4 separate regions of the Homo sapiens genome follow, and regions 1, 2 and 3 are each linked to region 4. The links are contacts of gene promoters, found by promoter capture Hi-C in blood cells and fetal thymus (Javierre and others, 2016). All regions are on one chromosome and are shown on one strand. The core of a region is centred on a gene start or on the middle of the fragment in contact, and the rest is flanking DNA. Distances in the headings are between cores, read along the strand shown.

What was found. The method cuts DNA at HindIII sites, captures the fragments that hold promoters and counts their contacts. A CHiCAGO score of 5 or more calls a contact.
Region 1: a contact is called between a fragment that was not itself captured here and the fragment with the promoter of CHCHD3 in region 4, in 1 of 17 cell types (non-activated CD4 T cells). The highest score is 7.4, in non-activated CD4 T cells.
Region 2: a contact is called between the fragment with the promoter of LRGUK here and the fragment with the promoter of CHCHD3 in region 4, in 11 of 17 cell types (total B cells, fetal thymus, non-activated CD4 T cells and 8 more). The highest score is 20.4, in total B cells.
Region 3: a contact is called between the fragment with the promoter of BPGM here and the fragment with the promoter of CHCHD3 in region 4, in 1 of 17 cell types (monocytes). The highest score is 6.2, in monocytes.

Annotation. Positions count from the first base shown.
Region 1 is chr7:134,320,728-134,327,456 of GRCh38, reverse strand. No RefSeq gene overlaps it. Among named protein-coding and RNA genes, the nearest start is that of SLC35B4, 7.2 kb to the right of the region's middle. The HindIII fragment of the contact is 935 bases long and covers 4,430-5,364 here.
Region 2 is chr7:134,126,021-134,128,589 of GRCh38, reverse strand. LRGUK (leucine rich repeats and guanylate kinase domain containing) reads right to left here and starts at 1,250. Exons shown (of 20, transcript NM_144648.3): 1 at 926-1,250. The coding sequence starts at 1,222. RefSeq lists enhancers at 968-1,237, 1,348-1,397. The HindIII fragment of the contact is 1,507 bases long and covers 834-2,340 here.
Region 3 is chr7:134,644,148-134,651,523 of GRCh38, reverse strand. It overlaps BPGM (bisphosphoglycerate mutase), which reads right to left and starts at 4,671. Exons shown (of 3, transcript NM_001724.5): 1 at 4,587-4,671. The region is part of intron 1 of LOC124901750 (a long non-coding RNA gene); the gene reads left to right. RefSeq lists a silencer at 1,033-1,327 and enhancers at 4,335-4,444, 4,545-4,694. The HindIII fragment of the contact is 1,395 bases long and covers 3,951-5,345 here.
Region 4 is chr7:133,079,133-133,086,478 of GRCh38, reverse strand. CHCHD3 (coiled-coil-helix-coiled-coil-helix domain containing 3) reads left to right here and starts at 4,389. Exons shown (of 8, transcript NM_017812.4): 1 at 4,389-4,622. The coding sequence starts at 4,542. It also overlaps the pseudogene RNU6-92P. RefSeq lists enhancers at 4,107-4,216, 4,427-4,606, 4,022-4,656. The HindIII fragment of the contact is 4,501 bases long and covers 3,189-7,346 here.

The DNA.
Region 1 (6,729 bases), core at 3,648-6,147, 1.2 Mb before region 4:
TGTATCATGATATTCAATGCAGTGCTGCCTGTTAGAGCAAAAGATGGGAACCAACCTAAAGATTCAATAACAGGGAACCAGTTAAATAAAAGATAGTATAATAATAAATGGAATATTATACAGTCATTAAAAAGAACAACACACTACTAATATAAATATTCTCTAAGATCTATTTTTAAGGAAAAAACAGCATGTGAGTGAAAAAAACTACATATTTTGTAGAAAATGGAAGAATGTACAAAACACTGGTGACACTGGTTGCTTCAAAATGGGAGCAGTGGGTTATTGGGGCTCAGGAAAATTATTTTACACTAGTATCCTCTAGACCTTTTGAATTTTGTACCCTTTGTACATATTACAAATTAAAAGTGTCACCAATCCCAAAAGTAATTTGTCGGGGTAAGCTGGTGGAGTGAATGAGCTGGTATCAAATGAGGGTGTTAAAGAGCTGGCTCATCCTTTTCCTGGCTCTGTCACTTAGGACATTATCGGGGTCATAAGCCAGCAGCCTAGAGAAGAAATCTGGCTCAAAGATTGGTGTATGCCATGCCTTAACAATGTGAATTTGAAGGACTTAAATAGACATTTCTCCAAAGAAGATATACAAATGACCAATACCCACGTGGAAAGATGCTCAACATCACTAATCGTTAGGGAAATGCAAATCAAAACCAGAATGAGATGCCACCAAGCACTCACTAGAATGGCCACCATACAAAAAACAGAACATAGCGAGTACTAGCAAGGATATGGAGAAAATGGAACCCTGTGCACTGTTGGTAGAAATATAAAATGGTGCAGCCACTGTGGAAAACAGTGTGGAGGTTCCTCAAAAAATTAAACATGGAACTATCATACGATCCAGGAATTTCACTTCTAGGTATATCCCCAAAATAACTGAAAGAGTTTCAAAGAGACATTTGTATCCCCGTGTTCATAGCAGCATTATTCACAATAGCTAAAAGGTAGAAGCAACCCAAGGGTCTGTGGATGATGAATGGTTAGACAAAATGTGTGCTATGCATAGAGTGGAATATTATTTTAGTCTTAAAAAGGAAGGAGATTCTGACATACGCTATCACATGGATGAATCTTGAGGACATTATGCTAAATTAAATAAGTCACTAAAGGACAGATATTGTATAATTTCACTTATATGAAGTACCTAGAGGAGTCAGATTCATAGAGGTAGAAAGTAGAATGGAGGTTTCGAGGGGCTGGTGGGAGGCAGGAATGGGGAATTATTGTACAATGGGTGCAGAGTTTCAGTTTTGAAAGATGAAAAGAGTTCTGGAGCTGGATGGTGGGGATGGCAGCCCAACAGTGTGAGTGTATTTAATACCACAGAACCTTACACTCTAAAATAGTTAAGATGGTCAAAATGGTTATGTTATGTGTATGTTACCACAATGAAAAATAATGTTGAAAATGTAAATTCAAATGTATTCAGACAGAGCTTACACTTTTTAATTCCCCAGCAAAACTCCTATGATTTATGGCCAGTTTCACACATTTACCTTAGAAATCAGTTTTACCCACTTTACCTTACCTGCCCAGCCTCATGCATTCACACCAGTGAGCCTTGGAAAATACATTTAATCATATTTCTCCTAGAACTAATAATGCCTATCTGCTTCATATGATTCATGTAGGAGGTAGACTAGCTCTGTATGGGATCACTTTATAAGCTGAAACTGTCAGAAACTGAAATGTGCTGCATTTACTTCCTGGAACAGCAGATCAAAGCACATGCTTGGTACATGGGTTAGTAACATCTTCCCAGGCACCTAATGCCGGAATCAGAGGAGAAAGGTGGCAGTCAGAGTAGGAAAACTAAATGATCCCATAGGTTTGGTATTTTTTCCCTTAAGATATTATCAGTTGGCCAGGCACAGTGGCTCACCCTGTAATCCCATCACTTTGGGAGGCCGAGGCAGGTGGATCACGAGGTCAGGAGATCAAGACCATCCTGGCCAACACGGTAAAACCCCATCTCTACTAAAGATATAAAAATTAGCCAGGCATGGTGGTGTGCGCCTGTAGTCTACTACAGGTGCTACTTGGGAGGCTGAGGCAGGAGAATGGCTTGAACCCGGGAGGCAGAGGTTGCAGTGAGCCGAGATCATGCCATTGCACTCCAGCCTGGTTAACAGAGCAAGACTCCGTCTCAAAAAAAAAAAAAAAAAAAAAAGATATTATCAGCTATACAAGGCAAGGGGGTAGAGGCACAGTGGAAAAAAACTTGGAGACTTCTCACACTTGACATGAGTGAAGAACTGAGAAAACTTGATTATTCGACATGATTCTTTTTTTTTTTTTGAGACAGAGTTTCGCTCTTGTTGTCCAGGCTGGAGGGCAATGGCACCATCTAGGCCTACTGCAACCTCCGCCTCCCGGGTTCAAGCGATTCTCCTGCCTCAGCCTCCTGAGTAGCTGGGATTACAGGGGCAGGCTACCATGCCCGGCTAATTTTCTGTATTTTTAGTGGAGACGGGGTTTCACCATGGCCAGTCTGGTCTTGAACTCCTGACCTAAGGTGATCTGCCTGCCTTGGCCTCCCACAGTGCTGGGATTACAGGCATGAGCCACCGCGCCTAAAGGTGGTATAAACAGTCTCATTTCCTCAGTTAGATTTGCCACCTCAGTTCAATAATATAATTTAACAAACATCTTTTCAGCAACAATAAAGGGGAAAATGGTACGGTACTTAGATAAACGAGCTCTGGTACCTGCTGTTCAGGAGCTCACCCACAGTCATGGGCACTAAGGTTTGTTTCTTCGGGGAATTATTATTTTTTCTTTTTTAATTAAATTTTTTATTTTTATGGATTTAGGGGATACAATTGCAGTTTTGTCACATGGATATATTGCATAGTGGTGAAGTCTGGGCTTTTACTGTACCCATCACCTAAAGAGTATACATGGTACCCATCAGGTAATTTCTCATTCCTCACCTTTCTCCTACCCTCTCACCCTTTCCAGTCTCCAGTATCTATTATTCCACTCTCTGTGTCCCTGTGTACACATTATTTAGTTCCCACTTATAAGAGAGAACATTCAGTATTTGACTTTCTGTTTCTGAATCATTTCATTAAGGCAATGACTTCCAGTTCCATCCATGTTACTGCAAAAGACTTGATTTCATTCTTTTTTATGGCTGAGTAGTATTCCACTGTGTGTGTATCTATACCACATTTTCATTATCCAATCATCTGTTGATGGATACTTACGTTGATTCCATGTCTTTACTATTGTGAATAGTGCTGCAATAAGCATACTAGCGCAGGTATCTTTTTGATATAATTATTTCTTTTCTCTGGGGTAGATACCCAGTAGTGGAATTGCTTCAAGAAATCTCTCTATTGTTTCATAGGGGTTGTACTAATTTGCATTCCCACCAACAGTGTATAAGTGTTTCCTTTTCTCTGCATCCTCACCAACATCTGTTGTTTGTTGACTTTTTAATAGTCATTCTGACTGGTGTAATTATGTGATTAGTGATATTGAGCATTTTTTTTCACATGGTTATTGGCTGCTTGCATGTCATTTTTTGAAAAATGTCTGTTTATGTCTTTTGTCCAATTTTATAATGGTTTTTTTCTTGTTGAGTTGTTTGAGTTCTTTGTAAATTTTCTTCAGGTAATTATTCGTACTTACTTTCTCTCATAGCAGGTACCATTTTCAAACGCTCACCTGTTTTGTTTATGAGTCCCTTAAAGAGTAGCTGGTTTTTTGAAAGGTCCTCTTCCTTCCTTCCCTGCTTTTTCTTTCTTTCTTTCTCTTTCTTCTTTCTTTCTCTCTCTCCTTCTTTCTTTCTTTTTCTATTTCTTTCTTTCTCTCCTTCCTTCACTCCTTCCCTCCAGCTGTTACTTACTGAGCACCTACTATAAGCCAGATGTCATCCAGATATGGAGGATACTGTGGCTAATAAGACAAAGCCCTTGTCCTTGGGCCACTAATATTCTGATCAAGAAGGTTTTCTTCCTAGCCAAAATGTCATACTCCCAAATTATAGTAATCTGAAAAAATATGTCTTCAAATAATGCCCTTGAAAATATTAGCATTCATAAGTCTATTAATATACCAGGGCATTGCTTGAATCTGACCTATGAAACAAACAACAAGAATATTTTGACTCTATGAATAATATCTGAAGTATATTTATAGTGCACAGCTCTAAATATCTCAAGATTTACATAATGCAAAGATGAGAAAATAATCATCATATGATAGATATAGAAAAGATGTTTTAAAAAATCAAATGACAGATCTCTGTAGGATTGGCAATTTGAGACTTATCAGGCAGTATTCCATCAGAGGTATATTATTTAATTTTTTGTCAACAAGTTGTTTAAGTGAATTTTACAAATGATTCAAAATGTGTCTGAGTGTCTAGAACTAGAAACAAAAATGGCTTTTAGAACAAGCTTGACAGCTTTTCCCACTGACAACACTAGGTCAAAGACAATGAACATTCCCAAAGTGATAGATCCTTCTTTATAAGGTAAGAGGACTGTGAAGAGGTTTAAACATGTTGAGCACAGCTGGTGTCTAAGAAGTTGCTATTCATTCAAAAATGTTAGAATTCTGAACTCAGGGTAATAAAAGAAGAAAAAAAGATCTGTGAGATGAAATCATAGCTATACTTCATAACTTTGGTTTTATGATAAAACAAAATGTTGAAGTCGGCATGACCCCCAAAAAAACTCTTGGATGTTCTAGTTGTCAATTTATGGCCTCTCCACTCCAAATCCACCCTTCATGGCCTTGTTTGGGATGCTGGAGCTTGACCCTGTGGACGTTTCTCCTCTGATGGGGAGCACAGTGTGGAGCTTTGTCACAGAGGGGGCTGCAGGGACACTGAGGGAGGAGTTCTGGTTCTGGTGTGCTTTCTTCCATGTTGCTCATGCAGTGCTCAGCCAGCATGTAGGATACCCTGGGGAATTCACCCTGGTGGACTAACTAGTATCCTCACAGCTGGTATCCAGAAAATTCTGCCAGAGCTCCACCCAGCTTCCTAGCAAGTACAAAACTTCCACCAGCAGCTTCTCAATGAGCTGACCAGTGCCCTACCTGGACCCCAGAGGATGACCCTAGGTGAGTTTCATCAGCACCTCACTGAACTTCTCTGCTAGCCAGAGGACTGCAGCACTACCCCCTTCAATGAGGTCTGAATCTCCATTTGGGGAGGAGGGGAGAGGGCCCTTTTCCAAATATGTTCTTTTCTTGGGTAGTCTGACTCAGTCTTATGTAGTGGCTACTCCTTGTATCTGCTATTCCCATAATTTGGGGAGTTCTTTTAATCCTTTATAGTAGTTTATCTTCTAGTTAATACTACTAGTTAATAATTCTTTATATTAAGCTTTCTTTGTTCAAATTACTATACAATTTTTGCCTCCTGACTGGACCTTAATTGATACGCTGATATCCAATAGAAATGTACAAAAGATATGTACAAGATATTTCACAGTAGCACTATTAATAATAGCCAAATTGTCCATCACCAGAGAACAAATAAGTTGTCGTATATTCATACAAGGAAATGTTATGCAGCAGTAAGAATAAATGAGCTACAAATACACAAAGAAATGTAGCTGAACTGACAACATAATGTTGAGAAAAAAAAAAGAAGAAACAAAAGAAATATACTGCATGATTCCATTTATGTAAAGTGCAAAAGCAGACCAAACTTATCTTTGGTGCTAGAAAGTCAGAATAGTGCTTGCCCTTGGAGGGGGTTAGTGATTGGAATGGGGCACAGGAGCTGCTGGAATGCTGGTACTCATTTATTTCCTAACCTGAGTATTGGTTATACACCACTGTTCATGCAAATTCACTGAGCAGTACATTTTTGATGTTTACATTGTTAAAATTAGTCAAGCTGAAAAATATCATGTATTCATGAGGTGTGAATTATTTGACTACTTCAAGCTGATTCATTCAGTCATTGAATAGAAGGTATATGCACATATTATGTACCAGTCACCATGTAAGATGCTGAGGATCTAGAGATAAATTAGTTATTTGTGGATTCTGTTCATCAAAGGCTTAGTCTAGAGGGGGAGACCAACATGAAAACAGATAACTACAGTGCAACATGATTAATGGATTAGTGGGGGTATGGAGGAGTGCTGGAGGTATAGAGAAGGGAGCCATGAATGGTTCATTGAAAAGCAGCCAGGAGCAGTAGCTCATCCCTGTAATCCCTGCAATCCCTGCATTTTGGGAGGCTGAGGCAGGTGGATCACCTGAGGTCAGGAGTTCGAAACCAGCCTGGCCAACATGGTGAAACCCCGTATCTACTAAAAATACAGAATATATATATATTCTGTATATATATATATATATATATATATATATATATATATATATATATGCCAGGTGTGGTGGTGAGCACCTGTAATCCCAGCTACTCAGGAGGCCAAGGCAGGAGAATCGCTTGAACTCGGGAGGCAGAGGTTGCAGTGAGCCGAGATCGTGCCATTGCACTCCAGCCTGGGCAACAAGGGCAAAACTCCCCCTCCAAAAAAAAAAAAAAAAAGGAAAGAAAAGCTACACACAGAAAAGTGACATCTTAGCACAGCACCTTCCTCCTGCACAATATAGAGGTATCCACTGACTCTACTGTCCTCTCTGGCCACCGTAAAAAGATGAACAGGAGTTGGCTAAAGAGAAAAGGATATTCCAAGCAGACAGAACAGCGTATGCACAGATAAGAATTTTGAAAGT
Region 2 (2,569 bases), core at 1-2,500, 1.0 Mb before region 4:
GACAAAGCCAGACTCCATCTCAAAAACATAAACAAAATAGAAAGGAAGCAAATTAAATTACGCTTTTGAAAGAAAGCAATTTATTAGAAGCCAAGAGAAAAGAAGTGATGTGATGAGAAGTGGAAAAGGACAAGAAGACAACAATGGACTAAGAAAGGAAAAGGACCATAATAAGCATAAGAAAGAAGAGGAATTGTGTGGTGGTCAGAAGAGATATTGTAGAAAGGAGGGAATGGCAGTCATGTGAAACGCGAAGCCGCCATCCCAGTCAATATGGGTGGGATGATGGGAACATTCCCCACATCCTAAAATATTCCCACAATGAGCTGGCTGTTCGAACATTATAAGGCTCTTTTCTGGTGTGTGTGCATGTTGCTTGTATAAGGCATATGCCCCCGACAGAAGTAATGTATTCAACTTTTAAGTCACTTAGTCTTTGAAGAAGCACTTTCAAAAGCGGATTTTTTTTTTTTTTTTTTTCCTGGAGGGAGGCTGACGGGACTAGAACTGAGGAAGAGTGTGGAAGTATGTCATAGCCATGGGCAACAGGTGCTGGCAATGTCAGAGATGAACTCTGCCTATTCACAATACTGTCAAAGTATAATTTTGAAAAAGCTAAAGCCATAATTCCCAGACAATTATCTAGACACTCTTACAAAGTGACGCTGTGTTAACTCGACTCATAAGAAATCAAATGTGTTAATGAAAAAAGAAAGGAACTATTTAGAGCTATTTCAGGCAGGGGGTGAGAAAACGGGGTAAAAGACAGGGGAAGAAAAGAGGGGGAAGAGGCGTTCCTGGAGGCGAGAGAGCCTGAGAAGGTGTGGGAAGCTTCGGGCTGGTGGGGGTGCATCGGGGAGCTGCCGCTGAAGTAACAGGGCTGGACGAGGGAGCCAGGGAGTACGGGGTGGGGGGGAAGACACACCTCCAAATTCAGCATTTCGGACTCTGAGGACTCCTCGGATCCCGCCTCGCCCTCGCCCTGGTCCTCATCTCCGTCCGAGTCCAGCTCCTGATAGCGGTGCATGAGCTGCTGGAGCAGGTAGGAGGAGGCTATGTTAGAGCTGCCTTTCGTCTTCTGCCCCATGGGAAAAGACCAGCAAGGCTGACGCTCTTTTTCTGCGCGAAACTGTAACGATCGGGCTCCAGTTCGGGATCTGCCCAAGCCTCTCAGGAGAGAGGCAGCTCTGGTCCTCAGGAGAGCCCTCTCGGAGGTCGCCATCTTGTTTAGCGGGGTTGCCTAGGAGACTGACCCCAGGCAAGGGGAACCGCGGAGGATTCTGGGGCCTGTAGTCTCCTCCGCGCGTACTCGCCTTCTGCAGGCGGGGCAGTGGGCGCTCCACTTGACTTTTCTTTTTCTCAGTCTCTTCTGTTATTTTTCTCTCTTTGGTCTGTTCTGTTCGCTTATCTTTCCTGTTTTCACCTCTTTTCGCTACACCCCCTTTCTTTGTCTCCAGCTGTTTCCTCCCTACCCTGAGACCCCTCTTAGAGCTTTGTCATCCCACGATAGGATCGCAGGTGCGCCACCGTTGCCGCTTCATTCCCAAAGGGCTCTTTCCGCAGAGTCGTACTTTAGAAGTGTCTAATGTCTCTAAAGCAGTCTGTAGGAAAGCTAGTACCACTGAAATTTATGCAAAGCGCGACGCTAGGAGATGAGGGTGCATATAAGTGAAATAGAAGGCATGGTTCCTGTCCTTATGATTTAATTGCAGATAATAAAGAGAAACTACCAGACGACGCCTGAGAGCTGATTTCCAATTAATTTACATTCCCCACCCCCACCCCCCAATGATAAGCCTTGTCCTTGGGGAGAAAAACTGGCAGTGGTCTTACAATCCAAACAGAGAGAGAAAAAACTGCTGTCAAATTGACACTGTATCTGAAAGCGTCTGAAAAGCTATTAGCATCCCATAAATAATTATATTAGTCAAGTGACCTGCATTGGCAATTATTTTAATCTTGTTGCACAGGCTCTCTTTGCAGTTAAAAAAAATACTCTTTCAAGATAACAAAGCACGATTTTATGCTAGTGTGATTTTATGTGACCCAAATCCCATAGCCTTAAGCTCCACAACGTCGACACTCTATAGAAAAGCAGAATGAAAATTATAGTAACTATTATTGCCATAGTGATGACAATAGAGATCCTTGCAGGGAAGTAGCCCTCATCCTTCTGGCCTTACAGGGCCTTTTCTGCACGCTTCAATGACAGCAGTTGCAAATACAAAATGATCCTGTCAATGGCTGTCAGGGGAGAAGGAGAAAAAATCCTTATGGACACCATCCATTGACGATTATCTTTCTCAGTGCTTGAGGGACCGTTAAAACTGACATAAAGCTTTCAGAATTACCTTCCTTCATTATCTTGCTAGTCATAAATGTAAAGGCCACAAGCAAAATATCTCTTTCTGCCAGGCTCATCTTGCTTTTTGCTTATTTCTTTTTCCAATAAGTAGAGATTCCTCCAAGGGAATTTTCCCCACCCTTACCCTCGTAGGGCCTGGCTTCGGCTAAGTGACATAGGGAAGAATCAGGCAGAAAGTGTAAAAATGCAAATCTCGATCGTTTT
Region 3 (7,376 bases), core at 3,422-5,921, 1.6 Mb before region 4:
AATTCCACATATGAAATTATGTGAAATATAATTTCACATTATATTTCTCCCATAACTGAGGCTCCTCTGTTATAAGTACTCCCCATAACTGAGGCTCATCCTGTCTTCCAAACTGACACTCCTGGGACTTTGCTTCCTCCCTTCCTCACGTGTTTGAAAGTTAATAATGCCTAAGACCCTAGTGGTACAACTCACGGACAAATAGGACAAACTACAGGGTAAAGTCCAACTTAAAAACCTAGTTTTTCTTGTATTTCCAACGTTTAAGCAAGAAATTTGATCAGCAATATAATGTTGAAGTTATATAAAATAAGACAAATAGAACCAGAGTCACTTAGATTCAAAGCTCACATTTAAATATTAGTCAGTTGCTACCCTAGACACTCAGATGACGTTTTCCTTGGTCCAAACCCCTTATTGTGTGGCTTTGAGCAACTTTTAACCCCCACTGCAAGAGGAATCTAACTTTATAGAAGATGGGCTGGCTATTATTTGAGGACAGAGAAAAAGAACCATGTCTTTAACAAAGTAAAAAGGAACAGGTCTCAAGGGAAATGAAATCTGGGGCTCAGTTCCTTAAGGCTTTTAATGTTTCTTTTGAGACGCAGTCTCACTCTGTCGCCCAGGCTGGAGTGCAGTGGCGTGATCTCGGCTCGCTGCAAGCTCCGCCTCCCAGGTTCGTGCCATTGTCCTGCTTCAGCCTCCTGAGTAGCGGGGACCACAGGTGACCGTCACCACGCCCGGCTAATTTTTTTTGTTATCTTTAGTAGAGACAGGGTTTCACCATGTTAGCCAGGATGGTCTTGATCTCCTGACCTCGTGATCTGCCCGCCTCGGCCTCCCAAAGTGCTGGGATTACAGGCGTGAGCCACCGTGCTCGGCCAAGGCTTTTAATGTCTTAACAAACTATGCCTTCCCCCAAATCAAGTTCACTATTAGAAGTTCAAACACAACTGTACCTAAAAGTGTTCCATGGTCTATTACTTTTCCTAAGGCTTTGTAGAAACTTTTTCATCTGTACTTGCAGTTATAAGAACATCATTTTACAGGAGCAAATGTTACCACTTACAGGTGTTTTCCAGACACTAAAACCCTCTCATTCCCCAATCTTACATCTACTAATATTTCCTACTGATTGCTTGTTACAAGAATAACCAACCATACCAGGCAGATCCCTACTCATGGCGAAGAGATATACATATGTAATGAGATGTGCATTTGCTCAGGGCATGTTGCATGTTCCAGCCTGCATGGCATCACCACTGTGGACAACACCCACTCATGACGGACCCCTCCTTCCTATCTCTGGTCATTGTCTTCCCCAGGGTAGTAGCTTTTATCAACACAAACTGTGTCCACCAAATTCCAAAAGTCTAAAGTAAAAACAACCTAGATATGAGCCCAGCTCTGCTACTGACTGACAATGTGATCTTAACTTATTTAAATTCTTTGAACCTCAGGTTCCATATCTATAAAGATGAGGATCATGAAACTACTGTTCTCAGGGGGCTATCAGAAAGATTAAATGAGATTATGGTGAAGCACTCTACCAAAAAGTGAGAGGTAGAATGGAGCAGACTTTGACTAACTCATAAATAATGGCACAGATCTCAGGCCCGTCAAAGCAATCCTACCTTGCCGATGATATGAGCAGAAGCGAAAGCTGGGAATAAAGTAAAATGAAGGGAGGAATTAGAGGAGAAATGCTTAAATTAGGTGGTAGAAGGAGGAATGCAATCAAATATTGTGGGATGGAAGAAGGTGATGGTAAGATACAGTCTCAGAAGCTTACCAAGTACTAATATTCTGCAATCCAAATGCTTTAATGAAGTGGTTAACATTTAATTTATATTTTACAAAGTATGTTTTCCTCATATTTGTGGCTAAGTTTCAGCAGAAGGGTTTTGTTATTAAGTAATACTTTTTGTCCTGCCACCCATATAAACATCTTTCATATCAGATTTCATTCCAAGGATGTTTCAAGAAACCATTCGGTTCAAACACGTTTGTGACCTCTGTTCTTCAGGCCCCAGACACACAAAGATGAAGGCCAGGTGAATTTAGGTGCATCAATCATTACTTAAAATGTGCCTCTTAATCTCAACCAACCACAGCAGGCAAAAGAGGAAGAAAGACTAAAAGCTCTACCCAAACACTAACAGTAGTTGCTTCTAAGTGACATTTTTCTGCCACATTATACTTCGGTATGCTCCAAATTTTCTACAATAATCTGGTTTGGTTTAAATAGGAACACAAAAGAGTATATCCTTGTAATGGGGACAAAAATAGGAAGATCAATAAGACCTAGTATTTGCTAGCACAACAGGGTGACTATAGTAAAAAAAAAAACAATTTAATTGTAAATTTTCAAATAACTAAAAGAGTACAATTGGATTGTTTGAAACATAAAGGATAAATGCTTTTGGTGACAGCTACCCTATGTACTCTGATGTGATTATGCATTGCATGCCTATGTCAAAATATCTCATGTAACCCATAAATATATACACCTACTAGGTACCCACAAAAATTAAAAATTAAAAAACAAGAATATATCCTTGAAGCTGGGAACTTTTACTTGCTAATAGATGGTACAGAATTTACTGCAATGAGATTCTGCTTGTATACTAATAATTTTTACTTTAAAACAGACTTTAAATACAGAGTTTATATCTCAGATATAATTTAATGCAACATCTGCTTTCTAAAGATGCAAAAATCGAGATGGTAGGATCGCTTGAGCCCAGGAGGCAGAGGTGGAGGTTGCAGTGAGCAGAGATTGCGCCACTGCCCTCCAGCCTGGGCAACAGAGCGAGACCCTGTCTCAAAAAAAAAATGCAAAAATTAAGAGTCACAGTTGAAATGATTTGTTTAAGATCACACAAATAGTAACAGTTTCAGGACTAAAGCCAATGTTCTTGATTTCTAACTCAGAGCTCCTTCCACTATGACACTGTTTGAATTATGCTTCTCTGAAGTCCACCACCAACTGGGGAGCATCTGCGGTGTATGAGGTGCTACTGGAATACAAAGATGGCTAAGAAAGAGCTATTCCCTGGACTCACGGGAGGCAGTTCAAAAAAAAAGAAGGCCGGGCGCGGTAGCTCACACCTGTAATCCCAGCACTTTGGGAGGCCGAGGCAGGCAGATCACCTGAGGTCAGGAATTCGAGACCAGCCTGGCCAACATGGTGAAATCCTGTCTCTACTAAAAACACAAAATTAGCTGGGCGTGGGGGCGCATGCCTGTAATCCCAGCTACTCGGGAGGCTGAGGCAGGAGAATCGATTGAATCCAGGAGGCGGAGGTTGCGGTGAGCCAATATCGCGCCATTGCACTCCAGCCTGGGCAACAGAAGCGAAACTCCGTCTGAAAACAAAACAAAAAAAAAACCAAAACAAAAGAAAGAAAGAAAGAAAAAAGACAAGGCCAGGCACGGTGGCTCACGCCTGTAATCCCAGCACTTTGGGAGGCCGAGGCAGGCAGATCACCTGAGGTCAGGAGTTCAAGACCACCCTGGCCAACATGGTGAAACCCCGTCTCTACTAAAAATACAAAAATCAGCCAGGCGTGGTGGCCTATGCTTGTAATCCCAGCTACTTGGGAGGCTGAGGCAGGAGAATCACTTGAACCCGGTAGGCGGAGGTTGCAGTGAACCGAGATCGAGCCACTGCAGTCGCTCCAGCCTGGGCGACAGAGCGAGACTCCGTTTCAAAAAAAATAAAAAATAAAAGACAAATTGACATGAGTTCTGCTTTCACTATTAAAAAACCTTTAGTACCTACAGGTGAAACTTAGCTTTTGATTTTTCCCCTTCTTGGAAAGAGTCTGCATTTAGTCAGCTAACATTCTAGTACCACTCACAAGCTAAAGATCTTCCGTAATTTGCAAGGGAGGCAGTAGGGGGATGAGAGTTATAAGTTAGCTAACAACCAACTATTCTTTAAAGCTTAACTGTGAACTTAACTGCAATTATGCATTTCATTGACCTTCTCTAGTGTAATACCAGCTCGTCCCTTAGAAAAGAGGAAAATACACTTACGTTTTTATTTCTAGTGGTTCTAAGAACTTGTGATTTGGCTCCAGATTCCTACATGAAAACACTGCATATATTCACCTCCTTCTCTTTTCACCGCATTCGAGTTTTTCTGTCTACTACACAAAATGATAGATAGGGCCAGGTCTGCCAGAACCCTAAATACAGCGGCATCGCCCTGCTTCCTTCCAGGGGATCTTACTATTGGAAGGGCTCTGCTACACAGTACCTCAGACATCCAGAAGAGAGTTTATCTTCCCTCCAACTTCTATATATTCTTGCCATAAGGACAGCACTACCAAAGCGGGCTCCTCCTCTCAGTTGACAGAACGGTGACTGCCTGCGAGGCTCATTCTGAGATAGGGACAAGGGAAAGGGACCGGGGCGATAAGTGAGGGTCCCAGCTTGAGGGCTGGAGTGGGCACCAGACTCCCACCAACGACTAAACCGGGGGAAGTAAAGAAACTGGCCTTCCCCGCACCCAAAAATAAAACATCACATCACTAAAAAATGTAAACGTTCGCAACATTTTCTAAAACAAAGCCACTCACCTGCAAAGGGGCCACCAGCAGCAGCAGCAGCAGCAGCAGCCGCTCCTCCGAGCCGCCAAAGAGCCAGCGCCTCCTAGGACTCATCACTGCCGCCGGCATCGACGCTCTTTTCTAGCCCCTGAACCAGACGTGGGCAGGTCCTAGGGCTCTGCCTATTGGAAAGTCGAACTGTCACTCATCCACGGTCCCGGCCTACTCCCGGAACAGGAGAGGTCTCTTCCGTTTACCAAATCCCAGGAGTAAGAAGTGGGGCTCTGATTGGTTTACTCTAGAGACGAGCACATACCTGAACCAGTAAGGAGTTGGCTTCGACGCCAGCGGGCAGGCTTGGGCCTAGGGAAGTAGAAAAACACACCCTAGAGCGTCGCTGGTGCAAAACCTCGGGTGCGGGGAGCATCTTAGCTGTTTGAGGTTCTAGAAAGCGTTTAACGTCTTAAAAGAAACACCTGCGGGTGAAGACAGGTGTCAGCGGACTCTTGGAAGAGAGGAGGTGATGTTTCTTTTACTTATGGGAAATTTAGGGATTGAAACCTGAAGACGAAGCCGAGGTATCCTCCCAGAAGAAGCTCCTTTCGCACAAATTACTCGTGGTTGAAAGTCTTAAGTCGTGATTAAAACAAATGCCTTTAAAGTGCCCAATTTATAGGCAGTAACGCAACCTTACTTTCTCTTACCGCTTTTATAGGGATTCCCCTAGGCAGTTTGCTGACAGTATTTTAGGTGGGGAAGAAAAGTGATTAATGGAATGCCCTAAAAGCTTATTGCACAGAGGAAGGGAGGCTAGAGTGGAATGAGAGAATGACAAATTTGGAGGCGACAATAACTGAACAAGAGAAATCTATGAAAACACCGGAAACCTGGCACGAGGCCTTAAAAGCTTCTAAGCAGGCTTGAACTACCACACGAGGTTTTGAAGCATATGTGTCAGAACTCTTGGGTGGGCGGGAAAGATAAGGAATGTTATGGGAGATTCCCTTCTTAGAAGCTATCCTAAGTAGTGTTTCGTGTCCTCCTGTGAGTTTTTCCTGTTTCATCCTCCTAACAAATGCATTAGGTTTGTGACACGCAAGCAAGTCCTCAGAATAAATTATACATACAGTTGAAAAGATAATCTTTCCACATTTGAAATTCTGTGACACACTCTTTATTGAACTCATTAAGACCTAATCGTAGCCAGTTCTGTATCTCATTTATCCATGTTAGAGCATGACAGTTCCTCCTGGGATATCAACAGAACTTTACTTCCGGGACGGCACTAATCCGAGGCTTGACAGGTCCCAGCAGGTGATAGGTCTCACCTAGTGATAGTTAGAATTTAACTTGCACAAGATTAACTAGAGTTCAGGCCAGAACAGCTGGAAGGGGCAGCTTCCAAATCTTATACATTTGCCCTCTTGCTTTTTTCTCAATATCAGTTGAGGACAAAGTAAGGAGAAAGCTTTTCTTCTACAGTGTAATAAAGCTCCTATTCAGAGTGCCCACCATCCATACTCCGGAGGCTAATGACAGTCATTACCAAGTGACAGTCTTGTGGCATTTGGCATTTAGGGCTACTTAGTCTGGACTTAAGGGCGCCTACTCATTGGATTTAAGTTTACTGTTGTTATGGACACCCATGGAATGCTAGCTTGTCACATAAAACCTTAATATCAAACATCACTTGCCTTTTAGAATCATTCGCAAGAGTATGTGGCTTATGAATGAGTCATTTTGATATAAGATGGAAGCTTATATCAGTGATTCTGTCTAGAAGGAATTAAAAAGCAGATTTTCATCAGGAGCAAGCATGTTTGTAAGACAAATGTGCACAGAGGCTAACAGAATTTCAGGAGTTACTTTTGCCCTATGGCAAGATTGTTCTCCATACTTAATTATGTTACAGTATCATATCCTGAACCCTGTGTCCTGGTCTATTCGATGAGCTGTCTCTCTTATGAATTTTTAAATAACGAGGTCGTGGTTCACAAAGATGATCATAAATCCATTTAAGGCAAAGATGAACTCCAAAGAATATTAGACTTGTACAAACTTAGTACTTGACAGGGCTTTGGAAATTAAACTCTAGCTCCTTGTTGTACAGATAAAGAAACTGAAGCTTAAGTGATGTGCTCAGAATTACTTGGTTGGGGACAAATCCTGGGCTAGGACCCAAGGTTGCTAATTCATATAATTCTGGGAAGATGCTTCCTCTTCCTGCTGCCTTCTCCTCCTCACCCCAAAAGCAATGTATTTTTTAAATTAAGATTAATTTTAGGATTCACTTCCATTGAAGACCAGTCATGAGGACTTCAGTTCTGATACAGCAAGTGATATAGATACTATGAAAATAATTCAGTGTCATCAAACAGCTTTTGATGTAGTCTCACTTTTATCCAAACAAGAAATGAAAAGCAATAAATTATTATAGCTATGTTGTCTCTTTGTCTTCCTTTCTGTTACAGGTGTATATCAAAAAGTCAGTATTAACCCATGTGATACTTTGAGTTTTAGTTGAAAATTGTCTTCCTTGTGACCTGAATAAACCACTATTTTATTGATAGCATACATACCTGGTCAAAATAATTTCACAGTTATGTGCACAGAGCCTCTAGCCTTTTCCACGTATGGCTGAATTGGTCCACCGTGCATCAAAACATCATCCACGGACCTAGGCTATTCTCCCTTTTGCTAGCCTAGCAGAACCATTGGCTCCCTCCTTCCAGCAAACTCCAGAGTTAGCTAGTTCTATATGCCATGTACAGGAGTGTCTCCTTTTCTTCACAGTATCAGGACACACCATGAGTTGGTTAT
Region 4 (7,346 bases), core at 3,140-5,639:
GTGTGATGGAGTCTCACTCTCCCTCCGGGGCTGGAGTGCAGTGACGCGATCTCCGCTCACTGCAACCTCCGCCCGCCATGTTCAAGCGATTTTCCTGCCTCAGCCTTCTGAGTAGCTGGGATTACAGGTGCCCACCACCACGCCTGGCTAATTCTTGTATTTTTAGTAGAGGCGGGGTTTCACTATGTTGGCCAGGCTGGTCTCAAACTCCTGACCTCAGGTGATCTGCCCGACTTGGCCTCCCAAAGTGCTGAGATTACAGGTGTGAGCCACAGCGCCCGGCTACAATTGATTTTTATATGTTGATCTTGTATCCTGCAAACTTGCTGAGTTTTTTTATTAGTTCTAATTAGTTTTGCAGTGGATTCTGTAAGATTTTTCTATTTGTAAGATCATGTTATCTTCGAATAGAGGTAGTTTTACTTCTTCCTTTCCAGTCTGGATGCCTTTTATTTTTCTTGCAGTTTCTTATTCCACCTATCTTTAGTTTGCCATGATTCTTCATGGTACAGACTCAGTGTTATAACTTCTCTTCTTGCTATCTTTTTGTATGCTCTGAATTTTCAAGTTTAAATTTGAGAAAGTGAATACAGAGATACAGAAAACGGAGAAAAACATGGAGAATCTGAGTAGCTGAAGTATTAGCTATTATTTTTCTTAGGGCAAAGCTTTGCATTCTAGCTCATAGGTGTCTGGCTAGTAAATGCTGCCTTTGGATTAGATGACTATTAATAAGCTGTAGCCAGAAAGAAAGGGAGGCCACAAGTTCTGGGTAGCTCAAGAAGGGATTGTATAGGCATGACTGGCCTAGAAATTGACATGGATAGAACAGTATTGTTAGAGAAGGCATTTTGTTTTAAAGAATACATTGAATTTTTTTTAAACTCAGAAGGCATCTTTGTAATGTTGGTTAAAATGCATTAGGATGTCTAAAACATTTTTGGATTGTCTGTTTGATTAGACCACTTATATGTGTTTGAATCATAAAACATGAAGGCACTCCACTACCTTCTCATGCTTGGCATTCATCATCTTTAATATATTTGGTTGAAAGAACTCTACTTAATATTCTAACTGGAGATATATATATATATATTTAAGACAACTAGTGGTTTCTTCATCTCTCTATTCTCTCCAAGGAACGCTTTCTTTGTACTTGGTTATTTTCGTAAGTGCTTGTTGAGCATGTGTGTTATATAGAACCTCCGATATGCCCTATATATTGGGGTAATAAGTGAGAGTGTGTTTGTGGAGGGGAGGGTCCCCAAAAAATGAAAGTCATAATTCCTTGGAGCTTTAGTTCCCAGTAGAAGAAAGAGTTAGGCTGGGCATGGTGGCTCATGCCTGTAATCCCAGCACTTTGGGAGGCTAAGGCAGAAAGGTTGCTTGAGCTCAGGAGTTTGAGACCAGCCTGGGCAGCATAGTGAGACCACAGCTAGGTGTGGTGGCACACACCTGTAGTCACAGCTACTGGGGAGGCTGAACTGGGAGGGATTGCTTGAACCTGGGAGGTTGGGGCTGCAGTGAGTCGTGATTGGGCCACTGCATTCTAGCCTAGGCAACAAAGCAAGACCCTCTCTCTCTCAAAAAAAAAAAAAGAAAAAAGAAGGAAACTTGAGAACAAGTACAAAGTAGCACGTAGTCTCATAACTGCAAAGTAACATAGTACAATTTTAAAAGAATATAATGATGAGATGTAATCAACACTCTGCTACTGACCAGGGATATAGAGATTAAAAAGACATAGTTTCTGCTCTAAAGATTCATACAGTAAGGTTGGGAGCGGTGGCTCACGCCTATAATCCCAGCACTTTGGGAGGCTGAGGTGGGAGGATCATGAGGTCAGGAGATGGAGACCATCCTGGCCAACATGGTGAAACCCCATCTCTACTAAAAATACAAAAAAATTAGCTGGGTGTGGTGACACGCACCTGTAGTCCCAGCTACTCCGGAGGCTGAGGCAGGAGAATTGCTTGAACCTGGGAGGCGGAGGTTGCAGTGAGCCAAGATTGCGCCACTGAACTCCAGCCTGGCGACAGAGCGAGACTCTGTCTCAGAAAAATAAAAGATACATACAGTAATAGATCAGCACATAATTGGATTCATACAGTAATAGATCAGCACATAATTGAAGCTCAAAAATGCGACTGCATTGTAGATGCCTTTGGCATAAGAGAATGCCATGGTGTGTTGTGGCCTGCTGCTTTTAATGTTGAGAGGGATTAATTGAAGAATAGTACCATCATTAACCTAATTTCTATTGAGAATCATCTGCCTCTGTAAAACTAAGGTCATATGGCTAAACTTATGTGTAACAGTGTGTTTAGCAAAAAAGAAATATGTAGATGAATAACCTAATAACTATGTACTGGTCTCGTAGAGGTGAAATGTTGAACTATTAATAGGAACTTTCCACAATAGATCATCTCAACTTTTCTGATGTAGTTTTAATTCCTCCACTAATTTATGCCATCTTTGGCAATCACTTAACTTTTCTCTGCCTAACCCTATTATGGCCTAACTTATGTAACTGAACTAGTAGTAGAAGGAGACACAAAAGTGGAAAGTAAATTCTCTACATACTTGGTGCAAATAATTTATTCTATGAAGAAATGTATTTTCTCATAGACAGGTTTGAAAACCATAGTACTTAAAATTTTACTTTACAAAAAGAAAAAAATACAGATACTAGTTCATGAGACAAGAGACATGGACCAAACACACGTTTACGTTTTTTATTTTTTTATTTTATGGCTACTACTAAAATGCCACCATTCATGTACTGCATAACAGTGTTTCAGTCAAAGAAGAACCTCATTTCTGGCAGTGGAATCATAAGATTATAATGGAGCTGGAAAATTCCTGTCTCCTAGTATTTACTATACTATGCTTTTTATCTTTAGGTTAAAGTGCATTCTTTCTACCTATATAAAAAAGTTAACTGTAAAACAGCCTCAGGCAGGTCCTTCAGGAGGTGTTACAGAAGGTGCTGTTATCATAGGAGATAGCTCCATACGTGTTATTGCCTCTGAAGACCTTTCAGTGGGACAAGATGTGAAGGTGGAAGACAGTGATATTGATGATCCTGACCCCGTGTAGGTCTAGGCTAATGTGTGTGTGTTTGTCTTAATTTTTAACAAAAATGTTTAAAAAGTAAAAAGTAAATAATTTCAAAAATAGAAAAAGCTTATAGACTAAGTATATAAAGAAAGAAATATTTTTGTACAGCTATATAGTGTGTTTGTGTTTTAAGCTAAGTGTTATTAAAGAGTCAAAAAGTCACAAAAAAAGAAGTTTATAAGTTTAAAAAGTTACAGTAAGCTAAGGTCAATTTATTCTTGAAGAATGAAAATATATGAAAATAAATTTAGTGTTGCCTAAGTGCACAGTGTTGATAAAAGGTACAGTACTGCATAGTTGCGTCCCAGGCCTTCACATTCAACTCCCCACTCACTCACTGACTCACTCAGGGCAACTTCCAGTCCTGTAAGCTCCATTCATGGTAAGTGCCCTATAGAAGCATACCATTTTTTATCTTTGATTTTTTTTTTAATGGAATGCTTCAGAAATTCATGTGTCAACCTTGCTCAGGGGCTGTGCTAATCTCTGTATTGTTCAAATTGTCCTAGATGTGTTGCCAAAGCAATCACTTTTACACTGTTTTTGCTGTAGCTTTTCTATGTTTACATATATTTGTACACACAAATACCACTGTGTTACAATTGCCTACAGTATTTAGTACAGTGACATGCTGTACATCTTTGCAGCCTGGGAGCAATAGGTTACACCAAGTAGCCCAGGTGTGTAGTAGGCTACACCATCTGGGTTTGTGTAAGTACACTCTATGATGTTTGCACAACCACAGATATCACAGGGTCACCTAACGAGGCATTTCTCAGAAGTAGTCTTCATTAAGCTACCCTACGACTGTAATGAAACGCTAAGTTTTGAGCCAGGAATTTGTGTATAGAACACTAGGAATGGCTTCATTAGTATCATGCATCTTTTTCATTAAACTGTGAGTCCCTTTGAGAGAAAGATTGTGTCTCTGAACTTAGTGGCCTAAATTTCTAGAATTATGTCTTCAAAAAGTTGCCCAGTTAGGCGTCTCTGGGGAGTCAAAACCACAACTCCCAGAATGCCGTGCTCCCTTAGCGCGCTCAGGCGCGGGGAGAGAATGTCCCATCACCCACCGCGCCAGATCGAGACCACAGTTCCCACTACACCCAGGGACTCCGCGGAAAGCTATCAAACACCACCTGTTGCCATAGCATCCGGGTCGGGTGAACCAATCCGGGCGCCCTCGCCGAACAGAGGCGGGCAGTTCGCATCGCCGACCAACCTGAGGCGTTTTTGTTGTGGCGCGTGACCGGAGGAGGCGGGAGCTCAGGACCGGCGCCTTCTCCTTGCTTCTGGGGGTCGTGGCCTTGCTCCCGCTGTGCGGGAAAAGAATCCAGGCCCTTCCACGCGCGTGTGGGTGCGGGGGCCCCGAAGTGCTCGTGGTTCCCCGCTAGGTCTCCGCTGGGGCAGGAACCGGAATCATGGGTGGGACCACCAGCACCCGCCGGGTCACCTTCGAGGCGGACGAGAATGAGAACATCACCGTGGTGAAGGGCATCCGGGTGAGTGCCCGTGGACGGGCGGAGGGCCAGTGGTTGGACTCGGACCCCAAGGCCCCATCTTCTCCGGACCCGCTCAGCCTGGGTTTCTCCCGTCCTGGACCCTAGCGTATTAAGGCCAGAAGCCCAGGTGTCTGGGAAGAAGCCTAGAGTTTCAAGACGTGGGACATTCATTCAGAGATAGTTCCTGGTTGTGCCAAGTGCTAGGCACTGCTGGGGCGGGCGGGGAATGCCAGGTTGAATTATACCCTGCAAGGGCTCACAGTCTACTCGTAACTGTACTGCTCCCTTGTTGCAGGACCGTATTTGAAACCCATACCTCGGTGTACTTGTCTGTGAAATGGTTTTCCTGGGTTCAGGACCCAAACCCTGCTTTTCCACTGTGCACACCCTGTCTCCCAGGGTGAATTGGCATTTTAAGGATTGCCTTTGCTTTGTGTCATTTAGTGCTCTCCCTCTGATAACACCCCCTCCTCCCACCCACTCCCCACACCCTGTCATCCTCCCTCCCAGCCCCACAGTCTTTTCTGACCTGCCTGGGGCGGCTTCTGGCTTCTCCCTGCTTCACTTTCACTTGATATCTCCTCTTTCCCAGGCGCCTCCTCTGTGACCTGCTGCGCCGAAGTTTTGGATTAGGCCCAGTTGCTTCAGGACTAGTGTCTGCCAGTCTGATAGGGGCTGAGATGGGTTTGCAGTTTTTCATACCAGTAGAAGTAATGTAGTCATTTCTGACCAACGTTGTAGAGCACTTTTTTTTTAATGCCCTTTGCATGCACCTGATACATAAACTGAAAACCTGGTTTTTCTCTAGGGTGTCAGTATACCAGCACTAACTTCATTAACACACTCTCCGCTGCGCCTGAATTTGGAGCCTCACATTTTTGGACGTATGATGCCTGAACCTAGTAAATAAAGCAATTTTGACTTCAGAAAGTTTTATAATAATTTATATATTTTTTTCTGTTATCAACCAGCGTAAATAAATTACATTTGTAAATTATTTTTAACAGTTGTTACCAGGAAATAAAACTTCTTAAATATTTAAAATGTTTAAAAACTTTTTCTTCTGAAACTGTTACCTTGAGAATAATTTATTAAACTTTTCTTCATAGAAACTCAGACTGTCGAACTCAGTTTTTGGTCTGTGACCAGTATTTCTTTATATCATGCTAATTAATGGTAGTACTACATTTTGTAATAAAATATCTGAGGCTGTATTCTTTGAGTTATTGTGTTTCAGTTAGTACTCTTTGGAGTAAAAAATTACTGTAAACTTTAAGTTTTATGCAGAGATTTTAAGACTCTTGCCATTAGGCTTTCAGTACGCAACTCAGAGTGAAAAATAATTAAAAGACAAAGCAAAATAAGTTTTGAGTGAGAAGACATTGGTTAGAAAAAAATGTATAAATCCATATTCTCGTGCTTTAGTACAGACACAGTGCTAACAGCAAACAAAATCGAAAGAGAATGTGGCCACAGCACAGAGATTCATATCAAGTATTAGATAAGGTTGGATGGAATAACTGTGACAGCAGGGATAGGTATTCTATTAAAATGGAAAAATTGTCTAAAAAACCTTTTTAAGATTTTTGTTTTTTAAAAAGAAATGTCCTTTGGTCATATAACTTGACAGCATTCCTCATTTTTTTCCTTTCTTATATAGTACATTTTACCTGTATTGCTAACAGTTCAAGCATGATCATTTTTACCTCTATGCTTTTCTTCAGAATATACCCTTCACCTGGAATGCCCTTGCGCTGGTCTCCATTGCTTCAAATCCTCCTTTTACATGAATGTTTTGCAATCTCTCTGAGCTTCAGTTTTCCCATCTGCAAAATAATGCAACTGAGTACATCCCTCAGATCTCTAATATTTTCCAGTCCTGAAATCCTGTGAGTCTGGTGGCACTGTAAGTTTCTTGTAGCCATACTTAGCCCATTGCAGTTTCCTCTAGAAGTGACATCCATTGAAGTATTGAGTACACAGAGGTCATTCTGATTTCTTTGAGCTCATGATCAAAAGAGTATCAACTTGAAATTAAACAGACCTCAGTTTAAATCTCAGGTTAGATATTTATTACTTAACCTGATTGCCTGTGTGATTTTTGTCTGGGTCTTTTGTAGATGTTTTTCAGTTGATCTTAGTATTTTTCTTGGCTTGAATTAAGCAGACATCAGTTTAAATCGCAGGTTAGTTATTTATTAGCCTGTGGCCTTTGACAATTGACTTCTTTTATTTCCTTATCCATAAACGGTAATACCATCACTTCCCTTGATTGGTTATTGTAAGAAGATGAGGTAAGGTATGTAAAGCACCTGGCACATTGTAGATTTTCATTAAAAAGGCAGCCATTATTATGATAGGGTTCCTTTCACATGCAAAGTTTTAAGATTCTTTGAAAGTGCTGTGCTGTGTAGTGGAAAGAGCATGTGCCTTGGAACCAAGCAGACCTGGGTTGGATTCTATCTCTGCCTCTCACTAGCGGTGTCGCTCTGGACAAGTCACTTTTCATTGTGTTTCCGTATTTAGTATTTCTGGACAAAGCCTACTTTGAGAATTTGACATAATGTATATCTAGCACAGTGTCTTGTACTTTGACAGTGTTTGCACTTGTGAATAATAGCTGTTATTAGAGCTGTTCAAAAGAATGGATATGTGAACTTAAGTGAACTTCAAATTTTAATAAAAATAAGAGCATGTTGTGCCCCAACAGGTGTACCTAAAAGG